Linked DNA regions of Homo sapiens: regions 1, 2, 4 and 5 are each linked to region 3. Evidence: promoter capture Hi-C in 16 types of primary human blood cells and fetal thymus (Javierre and others, 2016). All regions are on one chromosome and are shown on one strand. The core of a region is centred on a gene start or on the middle of the fragment in contact, and the rest is flanking DNA. Distances in the headings are between cores, read along the strand shown. Region 1 holds the start of ISX (intestine specific homeobox). Region 2 holds the start of LINC01399 (long intergenic non-protein coding RNA 1399). Region 3 holds the start of LARGE1 (LARGE xylosyl- and glucuronyltransferase 1). Region 4 has its middle 24 kb from the start of LINC02885. Region 5 overlaps LINC01399 (long intergenic non-protein coding RNA 1399).

Region 1 (4,587 bases), core at 1,632-4,131, 1.1 Mb before region 3:
TCCAAGCTTTCAGAAATGCCGAATTCCAGCATAGTGGGAGACGGATGGATTTAAACTAAGTTCAGGAATAATCTAGAGTAGATGGTCTAAGGCCACCAGGGTTCAATTCTAGTGCTCATTACTCACATAGTTTTTGTGGGGGATTTATCTTCTCTTCTTGGTTTCATCATCTGTAAGTTGGGCTCCCAAGTGTGACAGTGAGATGGGAAAATGGCCACAAAAGTGCTGTGGAAGGAATATACCACCATCCGATGTCACCACCGCTAGTCTGGTCAGCACTTACTGGGGTCTGTTCTGGGACCAGATGGATAGCTGACACGGAACATGCCAGAATCTTCCGTGGAGGCCTAGAAAGAGTGGTTTCCTTTCTGAAGCCTGCCGTCATCGGGCTAGGGGAAGGGAAGCTTCTCTGGTAGGAAAAGCGAGACCTCTCTCTCATGACACAGGGTGATCATAGATTTGTACAACTGCAGGAGGAGAGACTCAGGACCCCAATGGAAATGTTCCTATGAATCTTTAATGGACTGGAAGATATTAATGAACTTCCAAAAATTAAGCTAGAGACCCTTTCCCTTTGGAAAACTCAGCTATAGGGAAACACACCAGGCTCCTTCCTGCCTGCAGACACACAGCCCTCCTGGTCTTCCTCATGCCTGCAGCTGAGTGCGACCCCTCATCAGCTCCCTCCATGGGAGACTTGCCTCGTTGGTGGGGATGTGGAGCTCTATTTATGGCAGGTAATGACATTAAGGGCTCCCTGAGCTTCCTTTCCAGCATTTTCTGGGATTAAAAGGGGTGAAAAGGGGAGAGAACTGAGAACCTCATGTGAGATATTCCAGGCTCAGTGACAGTCAGACTGACAAGGCCCTTGAGACATCGCCAGCTTCACCATTTCTTATTCCTTCACCCAGGTGTTTTGCTGAGAATAAACCTGAGGCTGCAGTGGACAGGGACTTTTCTGAGGTCACATAGCAGGCCAAGGTAGAGCTAAGACTCACATCCTGGGTTCCTGACTGTTAGCAGGTGTGTGCGTCCACACCAATGCCCCAGTGCGGCTTTCCTCCCTTCCTCAAGCCAGCTCTCGATCTACCTGGTCACTGTTATCTGGGGACATGCCTTGGGGTGGCCACTGGCTTGGGGAAGGTGATCAGGGTGGACAGACTTTTCCCAAGCCAAAGCTTCGGCCCCTGGGCAAAGCTTCAGCCCCTGGAAGTTGTGCAGACTGAACTTGGCTTATGAGGAGGAGACTGTGCTGGGCCCAGCAGGGATTTGGGGGAGTCAGAGCCAGGTCCTGATAGCGGGGCTTCTGTTTACCAGCTGTGTAACTTGGGGACATTATCCTCCTCTTCTCTTTCACAGATGAGTTTTCTTATCTGTCCAGTTATGATAATCATGCTTTTCTACTGAAATTAAAAGAGAATGCCTATGACATTGTCAATGCTGAATAAATGGTAACTAGCATTCTTAGCCGGGGCCTGGTTACAATAACAAGCCCCAGGTCCCTGCATTCTGCAACTAACTGAGCCTTGGTGTCTGAAGCTGAAAAGCACAGTTTTGGGTTAGATTGAAAGGTATATCAGGAAACCAGCCCAGAGCCAGGTCTTGCTCTGAATTTTAGAGTCCTCTATCCAGTTAATATGGACGGAGAAGCTTTTTCTCTGCCTGAGCCCAGCTGGGTCTTGGAGACCAGGAAACAGAAAGAAATGATCAGAAGACACTTACCCTGGGGCTGGTCCTTTGGAGGCTTTTCTAGCCCAGAGCCTGAGGCCGCAGCTTCTCCGGGGCCCTCTTCACCTGGCCCTTCTGGTCTGTCCATATCACTCCTCCTGGCAGGCCTCTTTAGGATCGCCTCAATGGAGAAGGACAGGCTCAGCTTCTTCGGGGCCTCACAGCACCCCAAGCTATTTCTCTCCATACCCCTGCAGAGAGCAGGGCCCACCTCAGCACACATTGAGGGGCTCAGGGGTGACTCTGTGTAGGCCAAGGAGGGTGCCAGTGGAGAGTGGCGTACTTCCTCCCCTGAACCTCCTGGGGTCAAGAGGGCGCGTGGAGGTGAAGAACAGAGAGCCTCCAGTTAGATGATCCAAACAGGATTTCGTGTCCACAGGGACTTCCATGGGCAGGTCACAGCAGAAGAGCTGGAAGGAGTGGTATCCTGTGCCCACGGCTCAGCCCTTACCAGTTTGACATCAAAGGAGTCACCATGGCTGAATTGGGGTTCAATCTTCCAGAGAAGGGTCTTCTCGGACACAGTTGCCTGCACAATCACCAGGTTAGGCCAGGATCCCTGAGGTCACCGCCCAGTGGCGAACAAAGAGAAGAGGGAGAAACAATAAGGCACAGGAAAGAGGAGGTCAGTCTCCAGAGGAGGTTTGGAGGCAGGGGTCCACCTTTGCCCTTTCTCTGGCTTCTGGCCCTTTCCTGTGGCTCTAGCCAGCCTTTAGGAGGAGGTTGGAGTGCCACCCTTGGCCTCAGGTGGCCAATTCAGTCCTGGGCTTTACTGCAGCTTGAGGGGTCTTCCCAGACACCCGTGTTTACTTCCTTCAGTTCTGCTGCTTCCAGACTCCAGAACGTACCTTCAGCGCATCAGTGCTCCTGCTGTCCTGCAGGTGGAGGCTGAGGAAAGGGGGTCCCTGGGTGCTGCCAGGCCTGTCTCTTCTCTGTGCCAGGGCTGGGCTGAGCTGTGGGTCTGATTCTTCTCAGGTGCCTCTGGGCTGGCCCTGGCTTTTTTTCTGTTCTATTTTCCCTGACGTCACTTTACATGCGAAGCCCTCTCTCCACAAGCGCCTGACCCAGGGTACCTCTCCCTTCCTTGTGGGGTCCTTTATGCTGTTTCTCCCAGTCTCCTGAGACAGACTGAAGAGGCCCTTTCTCTCTGACTGGGAGCTGACAGTTGTTGATCTGTCCTTGCCTGGAATTTTGCTCCAAATTACTGTGTAACCAAGGAGGAGGGGGCAGTAAAACAGGCTGATAAGAGAAAAACTCTCCACGCCCCTTAAGGCTGGGGATGCAGGTGTCAGGGTAGAAAAGTGGCAGGAGGCAGTGGGGATCTGAAGGACAGGTATTGGAGGCCCCAGGGAGGGGCTGTGCTGGGGAACTGGCCAGAGCAGGGGAAGGGAAGGTGGGAGCAGAATGGCCAGGAAGTGTACCCAGGCCCAATAAAACATGTTTACTCAGCCAGGAGAGCCTGTGGTCATGTGTGGGGGAGGCTGGGCTGAGGTGCAGTCTGCTGGCTGTCAGCCTTAGGCATTCATTTGCTCTCAGATGTGCTTTCCATGGCTTGCAAATATCAGATCAGGAAAAGCATTCCAGGGCTTTCTGATATGGGGAAACTGAGGTCCAGACCAAGGAGGTACAGAAAATGTGATGGCAGGGCCTGATCACAGTACTCCCCTGGGGATGTCCATGATGCCATGCTGGCCACAAGGAGCCAATTTGCACAGGAGGGATGGATACCCTGGCAGAGACTGTGAATGTAAATTTGGATGTTAGAATCTAGATCTTCTCATAGAGGGCAGGGGTGGGAGGTGAAGGATAGGGAACGTTGGTCTCCACTCCCTGAGAAGAGTGAGTCAGGAGAGAGAGGGACTCACCCTGAGAGAGGGAACAGGTAAAGATGCCCCATTTTAGGAGCTGTGCCCCTTGGAAGTGTCAGGCTGTCTGATTTAGTTAGGGGGGGAATAGGCTCTGCTGTAGTAGCAAGTAAACCCTATAGTCTTGGGAGCATAATAGCTCACCCACATCACATTCTAATGTAGTCATTTAGGGACCCAGATTCCTTTCAAACAGTGATGCCACCATTCTCCAATCATAGGCTCCAAGTTTTCTGGGGAAAGGGAGACAGCAAAGGAGAATTTTTTTTTTTTAATTTTAAGTTCTGGGATACATGTGCAGAATGTGCAGGTTTGTTACATAGGTATACATGTGCCTTGGTGCTTTGCTGTACCTATCACCCCATCATCTAGGTTTAAGTCCTGCGTGCATTAGGTATTTGTCCTAATGCTCTCCCTCCCCTTGCCCCCAACCCCTTGACTGGCCCCAGTGTGTATTTTCCCCCTCCCTGTGTCCATGTGTTCTCATTGTTCAACTCCCACCTATGAGTGAGAACATTCAGTATTTGGTTTTCTGTTGAAAGGAGAAATTTTGATGAGTCAGAAGTGGAAGTGGTTGATAGACCTTCTGCTCACATTCTGTGGCCAGAGGGAGTCACATGACCCTGCTTAGACCTATCCCTTTCCTAGGGCTGGACAGGGGAGTTTTCCTGCCAGGAGACAAATGAACCAGTTTGTTGACTTTTGCAGTGAAGAGGCCAGAGTCCCCTAGAAGTCAGGCCCACCATTGGTCCATGGAAGGGGTTGTTGGATGAGAGGACAAGGTTCCTTACACTCAGGGCAGAGGAAGCTCTGATGGGTACTTGAGATGCTTGGTCAAGAGCAAGGACAGGATCTTTGGGGGTGGAAGTGGCAGAGGCAAAAAGAGAGAGGCGATGGAGCCCTTTCTCTCTGCTGGACCTCGTGCCTGCAGCTGTGTGCTCACCGTTTCACTTAATCCATTCAACAGCCTGATCAATTAGGTGTCATTAATGCC
Region 2 (4,447 bases), core at 229-2,728, 1.3 Mb before region 3:
AGGGATGTGCTGGGGGGAATGGGGAGATGAATAAACTCCCACCTCACTCTTTAGGGGTCTGTGGAATGGTGGATGAGACAGACACACCTTGTCTCTACCCTGCACCGTGTAACTGGGCCTTGCGTGGTCCTTTGTGAGTGTGTAGTAAGGGTAATTTCTTCAGAAGAGTTCATGAAGAAGCAGAAAATATGGCCAGGTGAATACATTTTCCTTAAAAAATAACTTACATGGTGAAACCCCGTCTCTACTAAAAATACAAAAATTAGCCAGGCGTGGTGGCAGGCGCCTGTAGTCCCAGCTACTCGGGAGGCTGAGGCAGGAGAATCGCTTGAACCTGGGAGATGGAGGTTGCAGTAAGCCGAGATCGCGCCACTGCACTCAGCCTGGGCAACAGAGAGACTCTGTCTCAATAATAATAATAATAATAATAATAATAATAAAAATTACACATCAAAGTGCCCTTTGTATAAAGCACTTATAAGTGAGTCTATTTAAAATTAATTTTAGAGACATCATAAAAGTGAGTCATCTCATTTAATTTTTACAACCATCCTCTGAAGTAGGTACTTACTTAATCTCATTATGACACAACTTATTTGCAGTAAAGGAAACAAACGTGGAAAGGTTAAGTTACCTGCCCCAAATCAAGGAACTACAAGGAACTGTCCATCTGGACGCTGAGCTCTAAGCTTCTAATAATAATTGCACACCTCTAGGGTTAGGAAGGGCAGGTCTATGGGCTGATGAGAAAGTGTCTAGGAAGCCGATGGCCAAATTTACCTGCTTGGCTTTACGCTGCCTGCGTGGGTGTGTCCAAAGCTCAGAGCTCCTTGAGGCCTTCCTCTGTGGGTCCGCTAGAGGGCGCTGTTGGCCCAGTTCAGAAGTATGTTTTTGCCCTTGAATTCAGGTGTGGTCAGGGAAGGAATTGCTGTAAAAGCTAAAGAAGCTTAAGCTTCAGGACTTCTCACCTGTACAGACCCCTTCTGCTTTTGTACCTAACTTTGCATTTATAATTTCGTATCATTTTCCCATAAGAGGGCTTCCTGAATAAGTTGCGGGCTCCTCAAATCTGTAGTCCCCTTTCTTATGTCAATACTTTGGTAACTCAGCCTGGGGGACTGGGACATTGAGCGTCTTGAGCATCATGAAGTGTAAATTTCCAGGGCATCTGGCTGTCCGTCTTCCGGCTGTGGACTCCCGGAGAGCAGGGGCTCTGCCCTGTTTGACTTGGACTGTCTGCTATGTAGAACAAGCTGTTTGTAAATGTTTGTTGAAAGAATGAAATAAAGGAGGTTGAGATGGTTAGGCTCTGTGTCCCCACCCAAACCTCATCTTGACCTGTACTCCCCAGGTGTTGAGGGAGGAACCAGGTGGGAGGTGATTGGATCATGAGGGCGGTTCCCCCCATGCCGTTCTCGTGATAGTGAGTGAGTTCTCACGAGATCTGATGGTTTTATAAGGGGCTCCTCCCCCTTCACTTCCTTCACAAGCGTCCTCTCCTGCTGCCGTGTGAGATATGGCTGCTTCCCGTTCTGCCATGATGGTAAGTTTACTGAGGCCTCCCCAGCCACGTGGAACTGTGAGTCAATTAAATCTCTTTTCTTTATAAATTACCCAGTCTCAGGCAGTTATTTAGAGTCGTGTGAAATGGACCAATACAGAGGTAAACAGCCCCCCCAGCACCACTGCCGCTGCTTTAATCTTCTCTTTGGGTCTCAGTTCCCCAACTTTAAAGGTGGGGGCAGGCATTGGATTAGAGTTCATCTCTAAGTCTCTTTTCAGTCAGATGTTTACTCTAGGATTTGCTCCCTGTCCATCCCTTTCTCAACTCTACCACCTGTCATTTCATTTTATTTCTCTAGTTCTGTCCTCCTCTCCAGCCCATGCCCTCACATGGCTAGAGCCTCCTTGGCTCTGCTAACACCTTTAGGTGCTGGGATTACATGCATGAGCCACAGAATCTGGCCATGGTATAGAACATTTTTACCACCCCAGAAAGCTTCCCATGCCCCATTTCTTCTCCAGTCTTTGGCTTCTGGCAACTACTGATCTGTTCCCTGGCACTGTGCTTTGCCTTTTCTAGAATTTCATATACATGGAATCCTACAGAAAGTAGTCTTCTGTGTCTGCCTGCTTTCATTCAGCATAACGTTTTTGTGATTCATCCAGGTTCCGTCATGCATCTGTCATTCATTTCTTCTTGTTACTGACTAGTATTCTATTGTATGGGTATACCATAATTTACCTACCAGTTGATGAACAAGGCACCAGAATGAAAATGGTCCGAGTTTGAATTTAGACTCTGCTATGCGTTGCCTGTATGATCCTGAGCAAACTGTGTAGCTTCTCTAAGCCTCACACTTCTCAGCTGTACAGTAGGGACAGTAACACCTTCCCCTAAGGTTGCTGAGAGGATTAGATGAGCTCAGCCCTGAGGAACACCTCGCTGTGTGTCTGGTACTCAATAGCTGGTTGTTATCAAGGATGTATTGAACTGTCTGAACCAGGTGGGGGCATATTCTGCTCTACTCTTATCTTTCTTACAATATCGTAGGCAGATCCTTGAGATTTTTGGTCATTTGCAGCTAAGTACTTCAATCTGGTTTTTCATTTAATGCTCCTCTTTCCCACCCTCCCGCTCAGGCTTGACCCAGCCCCAGAGACCTGCGCCGGGAGAGGGATGGGAAAGGTTGGGAGCAATGGGCAGGATGCTAGCTGTTTCTCAGGGTGCCTGTGTGGGTTCTTCAGAGGTCCTCGTGAAGAGCTCTTGTGGGAGCCCTGACCACCCCATTAGCCCCCATCGTTGCCAGGGGGAGCCCACAGCTTCTTGCCACTCAAGTCTCCTTGGGTAATGATTAGGATCTTTGGACGTGGAAATTGCTCAAGTCTTGGTCCTTCAGTGGTGTTCTCTCCGCCTGTGGGAGACTCACGCATCTTTGCCATGCTATAGTGGGAGTGCCTGCTGCTGCACCTCCACCCCCTACCCTGTGCCTCGCTCCAGGTCTTTTCTCCCCTGTTCTGTTAGACTTAAGGGGCAGATCAGAGAGTCTGCTGCAGAAACACAGATCTAGGGTCCTTTTCTTTCAGGCAGCCCCTAGCAGATGCTGGGATGTGGGCAATGTCTCCTACCTACATTCCTTGTCTCTGCTAAAGTGCTCACTGGCTAACCTCCAGGGCAGCCCCTGTATCTCTTTGCCTGAGGGCGTTCTACAGTGGCCAGGCCCCGGGCCAGAGTAGTGGGCCTAAGTACCAGGAAATTAACACCACAGCAGCAGCCCTCCATGATGACTGGTGAGTGTTGGCGTGTATTAATAAATGCCCAGGTCCCTTGCCCCCTGGTGGGATGACTCTGAAAGTCGTCTTCCTCACTAGCTCCCAGTGTTTCACAGCAGGATGAATTCCCTCTCATCCACAGTGGTCACTTCTCAATAACCACACCCTTTTCACTGCCGTTCTTTCTCCAGCTCTTTCTTATTCCCCTCCTGGAGTTTCCTTGGATAATCTCTCAAGTTAGTCACGTGTCCTTGGATTCTTGCCTCAAGGTCTCCTTCTGGGGAACCCAAACGATGCCATAGCCCTAATCTTTGCAAATGACTTTCTTGAAGTTGGCTTGGGTGGGAGCCAGGGCCGTACAGCAGGAAACGAAAAGACACAGCGCTCTCCCCATATTTCAAATACTCCCTTGTCTAGTGAGTCCTCTGGAATTCCTCCAGGTCTTTTGCTGATAAAGGTTGGAGGGGCTTGGGAAGGGGTGATGGCTGTGGGGCAGAGGTACTTCTGTCCTTTCTTGGCTCATCTTGCATGGCTATGTCACTGTGCTTTTTAGAATGTGAGAGGATTTCATGCCCATTGTCCCTAGTTTGGGGGTTTATGCAGAATTTTGGGACAACAGGGAAAACCTGTTTTCTTAGCACAATGCACAGCATTTACATATTAGTCTGCTCAGGCTGCCCTAATGAAATATCATAGACAGTGTGGCTTAAATAACAGACATTGATTTCTCACAGTTCTGGAGGCTGGAAGTCTGAGATCAGGGTGCAGTGTGGTAGGGTCTGGTGAGGACCCTTTTCCAGGCTTGCAGAAAGCTGCCTTCTCACTGTGTCCTCACAAGACAGAGGGAGAGCGCTGATGTCTGTTTCTCTTCTTATAAGGGCACTAATCCCATCACGAGGACCCCACCCTCATGACCTCATTAAGCCTAATTATCTCCCAAAGGCCCTAGCCCCAAATACAGTCTCACTGGGAGTTAAGGCTTCAATATAAGAATTCGGGGGAAAACAATACGGTCTGAAGCAGCTTATTGACATGATGATGATGCACCTCTGATTTTACCACTGAAACCTGTTTCTCCTGCTGTATTCCTTATGTTGGGGAAGACATTCTTTCCTCCCTGACTTCCTCCTCCCCTCATGTCTGGTTAGGCATAAAGTGTTGTCAATTCTACCAC
Region 3 (4,119 bases), core at 1,320-3,819:
TCAGTCACGTTACCTTTATTAATATGCTAATGTGCTGTAATAATGCATTTTACACCACTAATGAAGTGAAGCAAAGCAAAACGTAAAAAGAAAGTACAAATTCTCCCTTTAACTTTACCCGGTTCCGGGGAGGGGGTAGGGGTGAGAGAGGAGGAAGAGAGTAGGAAGGAAGGACATTCGGGCGGCAAAAAAATAAAAATGATCCCCTTGTTTTCAGCGCGTTCTGGAACAGAGCTGCACGTCAGAGGAAGAACTGAGCAGCCTTCGAGCTAAAAGACTTGGCATTAAACTTTGACACTTTAATGGTCTCTAGGATATTAGATAGTATTTTTTCATATAATGTTCTTCTCCGACACGGTAATGGCATCAGAAACAGAATCTGCTATGCCTGCCAACGTGCACGGTGAGGCTCATCGCCGCAGAGGTAAGACAGCAGGACCCCAGCTTCGCAGTTAACTTATCCCGAAGCTCCAAAGCAAACGTCTTTTACTTCTTCGCCGGGGACGCTGCTGTACCACCGCTGCCTCCCTTTCGCATTCTGCTGGGCTCGGTCAGCCGCTGAGATTAGGTAAACAGCGCTCCGGAGCCGGGGCAAAGCGGGCGCTGCTGCTGCTGGTGGGGGTCGTTGTTTCACGAGGCTGGAGGGAAGGGGGATGGGAGAAGGGTCCCAGCTCGGTAAAGCCAAAGGCCGAGAGTGTGGTTACCGAGGCGGGAGCCAGGTCCGGAGCCAAGCAGGGGCCAAGCCTCCGAAGCCCTTGCCGCCCCACCCCCCCAGCCCGACCTCGAGGAGTGGGGTCAGCTGGGCAACCCAAGCTCGGCGGCCCTTTCCCGCGCGCCCCCTCCCCAGCCCATCCTTCCCCTGCCCCTTCCAAGAACTAGGGTGGGCTTCCCGCTGCCTCGCTCGAGTCCTGGAGAGCGGAGAGGCGCGCAGAGGGAAGGCAAAGACCCGGCGGCCCGCCCGGCTGGGGAGAGGTGGAGACCCGGGGGGAAGGGGACCCCAGAAGCCCTGGGACCGAGCTGCGGAAAAACCCGGGAGCTGGATCGCGCGCCCGGAGCTCCGGTCTCCGAGTCCGAGTTGTGCAGCTCTCGGCGTCCTCTTTCTCTCCCTGCCTCTCTGCTTTCGCCTCCTCTGGGTCTTCTCTCGAGGGCATCCTCCTTCCATCCATTCTCACACCCCCGCTCCTGTGCCCCGACCCATTTCACCCACTTCTCCTGTGGCTCGGGAGGACTCTCCGTACCCCCACCCTGGTCCCTAGAACTGGGAGGCTGGAAGTCCATTCAAGGGATGTTGCGCGCCGGGTTCTTATGCCAAGAGGGAAAGAGCGAGAATAAAATCAGCAGGGGAGGGGCGTGTTGTGCGTGCATGGGGTGTGTGTTTGGGGTGGAGGAAAAAGAAATGTAGTTTCCTCAGAGGAAGAGGAAGCCTTGGACAGGATTCTTGGATACCGATCCCAGAAAGATGCCGTCAGAGCCCTTCGGCGGGGCTCCTCACAGACTCCGGCTGCCCCACAGCATGCCCACCTCCGAGAGAAGCTGCGACCCGAGGCGGGGAAACTTCCTACTTCTCACGACGGCTGTTTTGTGCAATTTGGGGAGCAGGCTGCATGGTCCTGCAAGCCTGCGAGCCTCTCTACCACGGCAGCTGCGGGCCCGTCCCGCTTCCCTTCCCCCTTTTTCCGCGAGGCACGCCAAGCCCGAGGCGGCCGGGAGCCGCCGGGGTTGGGGGAAGAAGGGCGGGGAGCTCCCAGCTTGCACCCTTTCATCCCGACCCGGCCCGGGATCCCGGCTCCGGGTGTTGCTTCCGCCTGCCTGCCAGCCAGCGAGCTGAAGAAGCACCGGGGCGGAGTCTCGCCGGGGGGCGGAGCCTGTGCGGGGGCGAACTCTCGGTCCGCGCGGCTGCGGCGCTTGCCATTGGCCGGCCGCTCGGTCACGGGGTCGGGGGCGGGCGCCGACGCGGGCGCCGGCCCCGCCCCCGCTCGGAACCCAGCCCCGGCTCGCGGTCCCCCCCGGCTGCACAGACATGACACAGACACACAGTCACTGCAGCTGCTGAGCGAGTCCGGCGCTCTGGGCACGCGGAGGCGGCGGGGCCAGCCCGGAGCCCGGACCCCAGCGCCCGCCCCTGCCGGTTCCCGCGCGGCGGCCCACTCCTGGCCGGGCGCGGGAGGCGGGGATCGCGCGCCGGCTCCGGCCAGCGGCGCCCGGCTGCCCGCGGCGGCTGCAGCGGCCGCCCAGCTCCGAGCGCCGGGCGCTCCGGGAAGCCGGCGCATCTCGGAGGCGGCGGCGGCGGCCAAGGCCGGCGAGCGCTCCCGGCGGCGGGGGCCGCCCGCCTCGGCTCCCCGCACCCACCGCGCCGCGATCCACTCGCCGCGCCTCCGCTCCCGTGACCTTCCCGGGGCGCCTCCCCTAGCCCCGCGCCCCCGGCCCCGCGCCCCAGGCCGGGGCGAGGCCTTTTCCGGCGCTTCTTTCCCGCGGAGCCGCGGGCGGGCGGCGCAGGCCCTGGGGGAGAGCGCGCCGCGGCCGGTTGCAGCCCCCCCCGCGCCGCCGCGTTCGGCGCCCGGCCCGGCCAGTCTGCTCCTGCCCCGCCGCCGCGCCGGAGCCCGGGCGCCCGAAGCTGGGGGCGCGGCCGCGCTCGTCTCGCCGGGCTGTTCGCGGGCAGGCCCTGCCCTGAAGGGACGAATCGGCTTGGAGCGCGGGAGGTGGAGTCGGCCCCGGCGGTCGCTCCCTGGACCCAACCCGAGGCTGACCCAGGCCCCTGCCCATGCGGGGCGCCCCTGGCTCGGAAGAGTCCCCCGGGCCGGGAGCAGCTCCAGGCAGCGGCCCCGGAGGAAGAGGAAGAAGGGACAGTGCTCAGCTTGGGGGACCCGGACCCTCGCCGCGGCATTTGGAGCCGGGGGCAGTCCCGAACTCTGTGCTTGGCACCGCCGCTCCGAGTAGGGCAGCGCCTGCCGGGACCCTGACCCGGACCCCCTGCGCCTCGTAGGCGGCGGCGCCGCCGCGCCACCCTGTTCTTCCGTGTCTCCCTCTGCCTGGCGGCAGTCACGGCCAAGGTAAGAGCCCCGGAGCGCGAGAGTCGCCGCGGGGGCGCCGTGGTGTGTAGCGCCGGACAAGTTCTCCGAACCTGTGGCTGGTACCCCCTGTACTCGGGATGCCGGCGGGGAGGCCGGGCACACCCTCTGCTGCCCCGGCCGGGAGCCCTGGAGAGGCTGGAGGTGGAAGCCCCCAGTCTCCGAAGTCCCCAGGACCCCCTCAGGGCCTGCTCGGCTTCTGGGCACACAGGCTGCTGGCAGGGAGCGAGCCAGGAGGAGTTTCTGGTTAACACCACGAGGGCATGTGACCGATACCCGCACCCCCGGCCCTCTTGTTAGCGGTGAGCACCTGTGGTTCGCGGAGCCTGCCGTGTTTGGAGAGGGCCCTGTTGGGCGGTACGCAACTACCTTTCGTGGTGTGATGCTGTGAATAACTTTTCTTGTTCCTTCTTGCAGACAGTCCTGCGCAATTTGGGGGCGAGCAGCCACAGCTTGCGAGTCCCTCTTTAGGACAGAGTGGTTGGTTGGCATTGCTATCTGTAGGGGGGAAGCCCAGCCAGCATGTCCTTCCTGTTAGTCAAAGCTGCTTGTGAGGAGTGATCAGTGTATAGCTATCCAGACATTCTTGTAAATGTCACTGCTTTTGAAGTTTTGGAGTGAGGACTCCAAAGTTTGTGTATCCTCAAGTTATTTTGTTCATTGCCTTATCCTCTTTTAAATGTTCCTCTTAAGGAACCTCAGTTGTACAAGCCTGTCCTTGCCTGTTTGAAATTTATTAAACCTGTGAGCTTCCCCCAGAACAATCTGATTTTAAATGGGTCACTTCGGAGGGAACAGATTGTCTCTTGCACACTGAATCCATCCCTTGGGTGACCCTGTTTAATGGGGTTGGACTCTTTTTTTTTTTTTTTTTCGTCTCTGTGCTGATGTGCCTCGGTTGAGCAGGTTTCTGCTGAATTCAGAATCCGTGAATTTTGTCACTCAGTCCATTAAAATGATCTCCTGAGGGAGCAAAATAGCAGCTTACATTTTTCGTGAATGTCACTGGAAGTTTTACAGGGTCTTATGTAAGTGCCCAGAGAGAGAGAGA
Region 4 (4,529 bases), core at 800-3,299, 1.1 Mb before region 3:
GGGAGAAGGCAGGCCCTAGCCCCAAGGCTCTGCGCTCCTTCTAACCCCACTGGGGCTGGAATGCCCCCCGCCCCAACGTGTGGCACCAGGAGTGGGGGGCACAGCTCTGCGACCTGTGCCTGTACCCCCTCCTCCTGCCCCACTCTGAAGCTGTCTGTGCTTTTTCGAGCCATCACCTAGGCTCTGCCTTCCTCCCCTCACCTCTTTCTCGCTTGCTCCCGCGCGCTCTCTCCACTTAGTGGTTCATTTACTGCTCAATCTGTGATTAATTAAAACAATTTAAATAACTGTGCTGACGCTAAATTCATTTCCAGCCACCTCCGCCGCGCAGGGCTGCGTGAGCACAGGAGAGCCGCGGTGCGGGCTCGCGCTGACCGCCAGGGGGAGCTGTGGTCTCAGGTTTGACTGGAAGCTTGGCGTCGGATGGCGGGGTTGGGTGCAGGAAAAAGGTTAAAACATGCAAGTTCTCCCCTCCCGCCCACTTTGCCTTCTTCCACCTGGGATTCTACCGTGTCCGTGCCCTCGCAGTCCCCAAAGATTCGCTGGGTTAATCCAGAATAAAAAATGTCAGGGAAGCAAACTCCTTTCTCCTGCCTGAGGTCAGCCCCAGGATATTCCCAGAACACCTGGGGCCCGGGGACCAGGAAGGTCATGCTTGCAGGAGGGGAAACACAGGCACAGACTGTGAGAAAGGAAGACCTGCCCATGGCCTCCCTTGGTGGGGGAAGGGTAGATCCTAAATTCAATGACTGGTGTCCTTATAAGAGGAGGGGACACAGAGAGACACATATACTGTGTCAAGGGCCGGGCGCAGTAGCTTACGCCTATAATCCCAACATTTTGGGACGCAGAGGCAGGTGGATCACCTGAGGTCAGGAGTTTGAGACCAGCCTGGCCAACATGGTGAAACCCCGTCTCTACTCAAAATACAAAACATTAGCTGGGCATGGTGGCAGGCGCCTGTAATTCCAGCTACTTGGGAGGCTGAGGCAGGAGAATTGCTTGAACCCAGGTGGCAGAGGTTGCAGTGAGCCAAGATTGCACCATTGCACTCTAGTCTGGGCGACAGAGCAAGACTCTGTTTCAAAAAAAAAAAAAAATGCCATGTGAAGATGGGGCAGTGATTGGTGTGATGCTGCCATGAGCAAGGGAACCCAAAAACTGGAAGAGACAAGGAAAGATCCTTCCCTGATCCTTCAGAGGGAGCGTGGCCCTGCCAACACCTCAATTTCAGGCTGCTAGCCTCCAGAACTGTGAGAGAATAAAAATAAGCTGGTTTAAGCCTCCCAATTTGTGGTCGTTTGTTATGGCAGGGCTAGGAAACTGTGACAAGGTGTTAGAAAGAAACCAGTATCTAGGAGCCTACTCAGTGCTGGGCGCTTTGCTAGATGGGTTCATGAACGTTTTCTCATTTAAGCCTCACCACAGTCACGTGCTGCAGGTTAAATTAACATCCTCATCTGTCTTGCAGGGCCAAACAGCTGGGAAGAGGCAGAACCAGGTTCAAGAGCAGGCCAGCCTCGGTCGGCAACTGGGGGTCTCAGCAGGTTGCCTACCTCATGCTCTAGGGCCCCGCCGTTTCCTGGAACCTTGCCTTGAACAGAAATGAGAACAAGGATGTGTAAGTTTGCTGGGTAGGGGAGGGACAAGAGCTCAGACATGGTCAGGAGGACCAGGCACGGCTGGAGGATGCTTGCTGTGTGGGCATGCTCTGGTGGAGAGAAGACAGCTCCACCCAGGCTGCTCCCTCACACAGAACTTCAGGACTCTGCACTCGGGAGCAGTGGCCCGCCTTATGGGTTAGCATGGTATGAGATTGGTATGAGTCAAAGTGACCTTGGGTAAGTGACTTCACTTCTCCATGCCTCGAATCTCACTGGGGCCAATTTTGCCCCCCAGGAAACACTTGGCAATATCTAGAGATATTTTTGCTTGTCACAACTGGGTGGAGGGTGCTACTGGCTTTGAGTGGGTAGAGACCAGGGATGCCGGCCAATGTCCTGCAATGTACGAGACAGGCCCTTACGACAAAGAATTATCCAGCCCAAAGGTCAATAGTGCCAAAGCTGAGGGACTGTCTCTACACAGTCTGCCCCATCAGTTCCCTTAGCTCATCCCCAGCCACTGTCCCCTGGCCCCCTCCACTTAGCCACACTGGCCTCCTCTGTGCCCCGAACATACCCTTTCTGAGAGCATTTACACTGGCTAGTTCATCCTCTCTGCCTGGCTGGCTCATTCCATGTCCTCCAGGCCTTTGCTCAGACGCCACCTTCTCAATGGGATCTAGTCCAACCACCCTATTTACAGCTGCAACCTGCGCCTCCTCCGTGGCCCTTTCATCTGTCTTATCCTGCTTTAAAAAAAATTTTGTAGCATGGATCACCTTCTAACATTCTCGGTATATTACTTATTTCCTGTATTTCTTGTCTGTCAACAAATAATTCTATTTTTGGTTTATTTTATCAACTGGTGTGTTTCCAGTGCCTAAAACAATGCTCGGGACATAATAGGTGCTCAATAAATATTTATTGAATCAAACAATGTCCCTTTATTAGACTTCTTTTTCTTTTTTTATTTTTTGAGATGGGGGTCTCCCTCTGTCACTCAGGCTGGAGTGCAGTGGTGTGATGTCAGCTTACTGCAGCCTCCGCCTCCTGGGTTCAAGCAATTCTCCCACCTCAGCCTCCTGAGTAGCTGGGATTACAGGGGCACGCCACCACACCTGGCTAATTTTTTGCATTTTAAGTAGAGATGGGGTTTCATCATCTTGGCCAGGCTGGTCTCGAACTCCTGACCTCGGGTGATCCGCCTGCCTCGACCTCCCAAAGTACTGGGATTTACAGGCGTGAGCCACCGCGCCTGGCCCTAGTAGATTTCTAATACACTTGGGAACACTCAAGGCCCTGGGAAGTCGGACAGTAAAGGAACCGATGTGGTTTTGTCTTACCCAGAGCTTCTCAGTCTCACTTGACCATGGAATCCACTCTCTCTCTCCCGCTTCATTCCCATTGACTCCAGCCATTCTGCAGGGCACACTCTGACAGTTGCTGTCCTGTTCCAGCCCTGTCCAGAGGATATATGCGGGCAAAGATTCTGAAAAGAAGAATTAGGGAGCTTTAGGACAAAGCAGTGGGGGCAGAACTTCCACCGGGACAGCTCCATGGGGACAGATGCACCGAGCCTGGCCCAGATGGGCAGATGCAAGCTCTGGATACTGAACGCTGGCTGGGTGGGAGAGAGGCTCAGCTGGGCGGCACCCTGCGTCACACCTGTGTAAATACCATGTTTTATGAGTCCAGGAAAGAACAAGCCTGCATGTGCTCAGGGGCATTCTTTGGAGGATCTGGGAAAATAAACCCTCGCCTACTTTCCCTGATGTAACAGAAAACTGGCAGTAGTTGTGTGAAAAATCAGGGTGTGTGTTTAGAAGACACTGAGCTGCTTGGGCGTCTCTTCTGAGGCCGTGTGCTGGGAAGTGGTGTCTGGGGAACCAGGACTGCTGGGCTTGAGGGGATGCTGGCATGGCAGCCTTTATCCAGAGGACGAGGAGGAGAGGGTGAGGGGCCGGATGCCCAGCCAAAGCAGGGGGACACTAAAAATGCAGAAGAGGACATGCAGCGAGTGGGTGGGTAGGTTTAATCACTGTGACCATCGAGGCCAGAGGTAAGGTTCGTGGGAGAAGCTTACCAGGAGGGACAGCTTCAGCCCTAGATAATCCAGAATCTCCCAAGGCTAGGAACACTTTCTGGATGACTGAGCCTAATGAAGCACAGCACTGCTGTTCCCAGATGTGCTCAACCAGGGCCCTGTGGCCAGCTGGCTGTGTTCACGCAGTTCTGTGCCTGGGACCTCACTCTTCCCTGCAATGTGGTGGTGAAATGTAGAGCCAGACCCCAGTTCAAATCTTGACTCCTTGGTGACTCGCTGTGTGACCCTGTGCAAGTTACTTAACCTCTCTGTGTCCTCTCTGCTTCCTTGTTACTAAAATGGGGTAATACTGTCCCCACTACACAGGGCTGTTGTGAAGATTAAATGAGGTAGTTCCTAATGAGAGTCTGGGCTGCCCTGTATGTAGAAAGGGCAACATGAATGGCGTTTTTGGTATTCCAGCTCTCCATTTGGAGTCCTCTCCTCCAGGCTCGCAGTCCCGTTGGCCCTGTCACTGGCCCTGCTCTGACCTTTGGTTCAGGTTTCCTGGGTCTTCTTCCCTCACTCTGGATACTTTGGTTCCCCAGGCCTGGGTCCCCAACTCTAATTTTGGCTGACTTTGATCTCATCTGCTGGATCTATAATGAGCATGGCTGGTCACTAGTCTAATATAGTATTAGTATCATAGCAATTAAAGACATGGAGGCTGGACATGAAAAAGAATGAGATCATGTCTTTTGCAGGGACATGGTTGAAGCTAGAAACCATCATTCTCAGCAAACTAACACAGGAACAGAAAACCAAACACCACATGTTCTCACTCATAAGTGGGAGTTGAACAATGTGAACACATGGACACATGGAGGGGAACATCACACACC
Region 5 (4,093 bases), core at 378-2,877, 1.2 Mb before region 3:
GTTTTGCTAACTTTGGGAAAAATAAACCATGCATTCAGTTTGCTCATGAGACTTTTAGCAATGGCATATTTAGAGGTGAGAGATAATTGGAAATTCTATGGAAAAAAATGGAAAAAGTACTTGGAATAAAATAAAATACCCTTGCCTCAAGTTTTTTACCTGTTGTTTTTTTTTTCCTCGAATGTTATTTCTTTGACAAGGAGTTAGAGCTTTGGGGCCTGCCGCTGACAGGAAGGCTGGTGGAGCCAGACGGAATGTGCAAAGTGTCCTATCTGTCCCTTTAATAACTCTTTGGCCCGGGTGACCTGTCACTATAAGCAAGGGGAAGGGAGAAAAATGAGCCAATTCATTTCTAAATGGCTCTGTAACTCCAGGGTGTTATCGAGCAGAGACAAAGGACACTCCATAATTCTTGGAAAGGGAATCAGGATCTCCGGGAAGCAGGCACAGGCTCCATCTGGTCTGCCGAAGCCTCCTGCCAACCAGGGATCCACGCTCCATAAATACACAGAGAGATAGATCTCCTGGCCCCATTGATTTCCCCTTGCCATTATTGATTGCATTCTTAGATAAGTGGGGACTTTTCGACCAGAACTAAACTCTCTGTATCTTTCTTGGAAGCCTTTGCAATGCCAAGGGTTTGGCTGAGGGAGGAAGTGCTGTCTGCCGTCTTCTCAGAATGCTACCCACCAGCTATGTCCTGGGTAAGAGAAAATAAAGGGCTCTCCCTGGGCCCCTCAGTTTTCCAGAACATGTCAAGTTGGGAGCTCTCCCAAGGGGAGAAGAAAATGGCTTCAACTGACAGAGCCTCTATAGGTGTTCTGTGTGGATGACATCAACTTTGTTTATAATCCCTTCAATTATGAATGCAGAAGGGTAAGTTTGCCCTTGGCAGAATTTCTCAAACTTTAAAATGCAAAGAGGTCCCTTGGCCATCTTGTGTGAAAGCAGCCTCTGATTCAGTAAGTCTGGGGTGGGTCCTGAACTGTGCCTTGCTGACAGGCTCCTGGGTGTGTGGGTGCTGATGCTGCTGGATCTGGGTCCCCACTCAGGTCAACTCTGTACTCTCTCAGGCTGTGCACGTGAGCCTTTGCTATCCTTCAGAGCTGCCTTTAAGTATTAATTCATTCATCAAGCATTTATTAGCTTCTACTGTGTGCCAGGCCCTGTGCTGGGCTCTGGATAGAAGATGAAGGGAACAGAGTGCTCACCTTCAAATTACTTACAGCTGGGTTGGAGACACTACTTTTCCAACAAGCACTGCTAATGCAATGTGATTGCAATGTGATTACGTCCTGAGCAAGGATGGAAGGCCCTGCTGCAGGACCCTTCTCAGGTGAGGGGCAATTAATTCTGCTGGGAGGCCTCAGGGAGGGGGATATTGAAGCTGGGTATTGAAGCATGAGGAGGAGCCTTTCAGATGAGAAAGTGGAGGCAGAGGATATGAGTATGAATGGCTGGAAGTTTGAAAGTTTGGCATTGCCAGGAAAACATGGATGCTAGTTGCAAATGCCCCCAACTAAGAGATGGCTGGCTGGATGTGGAGTGCTGATCTGGCTATCACCACCAGACTCGGAGTCCTTGAGGTCAAGAGCCTCATCTGGCTTATCTCTACTCCCCCAGCTCTGGCAAACGGTGCCCAGAAAATAATTAAACCAAAATGAAGTTGATTTGTTCATTTCTGGCAGAGGTGCTCATTCTTGAGTGTACATCAGAATGCCCTGAAGTGCTTGTTAAAAAGACTTATGGGCCCCACCCTCAGTGCTTCTGACCCCGTAGATCTGGGCTGGGGCCTGGTATTTGCACTTCTAACAAGTTTCCAGGCAATGCTGCTGTTGCAGAACCAGGAACCACCCTTTGTGGACCACCAATCAACATCCAACGTCATTGTTTTCAAGTAATTCCTCCTGAGGGAGGGGAGTGGGTGGTTCACAGAAGGCAATGTGGATTAATGTAGAAAGCATGGCCTTTAAAGCTGCATACACTAGGTTCAATAAAGTTCTGCCATCTGTGTAACCTTGTTTGGATCAGACATTCCATAATACCTACCTTAGGACTCTTTAGTCAAGTTTCAGGTGAGAGAAACCCAGCTCAATAAATAAAAAAGAAATGACTGGGCTGTATAACTCAGAAGTTTGGGTGTCTGGAGTCTGGTGTGCCTGGATCCAGGAAGTCAAATCATGCCCTCGGAACTCCGTCTCTTTCCACCCTTTGGCTAATCTTTCTTCTGTATTGATCCCATTCTCAGGCAGGCACTCTTCCTGTAGCAGCTAGGATGACCAGGTAGCTCCACAATGATATGTTTTGCATAGTTACTGATCCCAGAGAAAAGAGAAAAGAATATCTCCGTTTTCTAGTGTTTTTAGCAAAAGCCCCAGAGATTCCTTTGATTGGCCTGGGCTGGGTCATGTGCCCACTCCTGAACCAATCACTGAACCTGGGGTACGGAGAGCTCTGATTGGCCAAAACTTGGTCACACGGCTATTCCTTGAAAAGTAAGAGAGAGAGAGAGAGAGTGTGTGTGTGTGTGTGTGTGTGTGTGTGTGTGTGTGTGTGTGTGTGTAGGGTATTGTTCAGGCTGGCATGGATGGATGGGATTTTCCTGAAAAGCCGCTCTGTTGCCAGTGTGTGTGTGTGTGTGTGTGTGTGTGTGTGTGTGTGTGTGTGTAGGGTATTGTTCAGGCTGGCATGGATGGATGGGATTTTCCTGAAAAGCCGCTCTGTTGCCAGAAAAATGGGACAAGGAAAGGATGTATGCTGGGCACTTTAAAACTACCTCGCTTTCAAAGTATTCCAAAATCTAGAATCGTCATGTCACCATTTTAGAATTCCTCTCAGTCGGCATGGCTTAATGAGGTTTTTAAAGGACTGATAAGGACTTAAGAGCACCTCACGTTATATACTTAGGAGGACCAGGTAGTGTTTTACATATTTTACACATCAATTCACGTAGTCTTTCTAAGAGCCTTATAAAGTAGGGACTCTTCTTCTTTTTAACAGATCAGGAAACTGAGGCACAGAGAGGTTAAGTAACTTGGCCAAGGTCACAGAGCTAGCGAGTGGTAGAGACCAGCTGCAAACCCAGGCAGTCCAGCTGTCTGTGTGCCTAACCACTATGTCCGCAGCCTGCCTCTTGAGAATTTTGAAATCTTATTACTGGAAAATGCCTTGGAGATGATGTCAGCCAGCACCCCAACCCCTCCTCCCTGTTTATTTATTTATTTATTAACAATTGAGGACCAGAGAGGAGGATTCATTTACTTGAGGTCATGCAACCCAGTAATGGCACAACCAGGATGAGAATTTTTGTCTTTGAATGCTGACCCCAGAGTTGTTCTGCCCCACCATCCCTCTACTGCCTCCTACTGGGTTTTCTGGAAATAGTCGCTGTTCTTAAGCGTGTGCAGGAATCAACTTTCACGGTTCTCCACGACCACCAACCACCTGGAGCACCTTGTCCTTTGCATCCTGAGTACCTGGCCCTGTGTCTAGTAGCTTGTGCAGATACTGTTCCTATATGCAATTTTTTGGTAATACTGAAAGCTTTTCCTCATGTTTTACCCATTCTGACTCTATTTCTTTGGGTTAGATCAAGGGGAAGCTGGGCACACTGGAACCACTGACCACACAAAAGCAGCGTAGATGAGCCCTTGTAAATTGGCAACTGGTCAGCACAGCTCAGAAATTCCATTTTCCTCACCCCTCAAAGTGGGGTCTGAGGATATACAGTAGCAGGATTTGCTGGGAGCTCCTTGGAAATGCAGAATCTCAGGCCCCATCCCCATCGGCTTTTTAACAAGACCGCCAGGTGATTTGTTTGCCCGATAAGAAGTCTCATTGTCAACCTGACTCTTCGCCAGTCCTGGAGAGAGAGGAGAAAGTAGCCACTAGGTGGGGGTATTGCCTGGGCCGAGGACCAAATGGCTGGAGCAGTGGGATGCCTGCGAAGAAGAGGCGCGAGGAGCCAGGAGCGGCTCAGCCAGCCAGGCTTTGAGTTGCAAATGGCACAAATGTTTTGGATTTCAAATAGCATCCCCTCTGTCCGCACCCATGTATTCCCTTACTCCCAGTGGCTCTGGAATGTTTAAAAAAA

Evidence for each region. The method cuts DNA at HindIII sites, captures the fragments that hold promoters and counts their contacts. A CHiCAGO score of 5 or more calls a contact.
Region 1: the fragment with the promoter of ISX here is called in contact with the fragment with the promoter of LARGE1 in region 3 in 1 of 17 cell types (endothelial precursors); the score reaches 6.4 in endothelial precursors.
Region 2: a fragment that was not itself captured here is called in contact with the fragment with the promoter of LARGE1 in region 3 in 1 of 17 cell types (endothelial precursors); the score reaches 5.0 in endothelial precursors.
Region 4: a fragment that was not itself captured here is called in contact with the fragment with the promoter of LARGE1 in region 3 in 6 of 17 cell types (endothelial precursors, megakaryocytes, M1 macrophages and 3 more); the score reaches 15.7 in endothelial precursors.
Region 5: a contact is called between a fragment that was not itself captured here and the fragment with the promoter of LARGE1 in region 3, in 1 of 17 cell types (endothelial precursors). The highest score is 9.1, in endothelial precursors.

The regions. Positions count from the first base shown.
Region 1 is chr22:35,064,452-35,069,038 of GRCh38, reverse strand. ISX (intestine specific homeobox) reads right to left here and starts at 2,881. Exons shown (of 5, transcript NM_001303508.2): 1 at 2,577-2,881; 2 at 1,723-2,287. The coding sequence starts at 1,951. The HindIII fragment of the contact is 3,728 bases long and covers 1,653-4,587 here.
Region 2 is chr22:35,228,094-35,232,540 of GRCh38, reverse strand. It overlaps LINC01399 (long intergenic non-protein coding RNA 1399), which reads left to right and starts at 1,485. Exons shown (of 6, transcript NR_126356.1): 1 at 1,485-1,543. The HindIII fragment of the contact is 1,047 bases long and covers 955-2,001 here.
Region 3 is chr22:33,918,926-33,923,044 of GRCh38, reverse strand. LARGE1 (LARGE xylosyl- and glucuronyltransferase 1) reads left to right here and starts at 2,569. Exons shown (of 15, transcript NM_133642.5): 1 at 2,569-3,050. LARGE1-AS1 (LARGE1 antisense RNA 1) reads right to left here and starts at 1,820. Exons shown (of 2, transcript XR_001755630.2): 1 at 1,522-1,820; 2 at 1-638. RefSeq lists silencers at 1,702-2,201, 2,522-2,671, 2,942-3,041. The HindIII fragment of the contact is 4,427 bases long and covers 1-4,119 here.
Region 4 is chr22:35,020,078-35,024,606 of GRCh38, reverse strand. No RefSeq gene overlaps it. Among named protein-coding and RNA genes, the nearest start is that of LINC02885, 24 kb to the right of the region's middle. RefSeq lists an enhancer at 111-701. The HindIII fragment of the contact is 3,270 bases long and covers 415-3,684 here.
Region 5 is chr22:35,154,867-35,158,959 of GRCh38, reverse strand. All of the region lies in intron 4 of LINC01399 (long intergenic non-protein coding RNA 1399), which reads left to right. Among named protein-coding and RNA genes, the nearest start is that of LINC01399, 74 kb to the left of the region's middle. RefSeq lists enhancers at 1-728, 3,618-3,817, 3,803-4,093 and a silencer at 3,790-4,084. The HindIII fragment of the contact is 3,837 bases long and covers 1-3,545 here.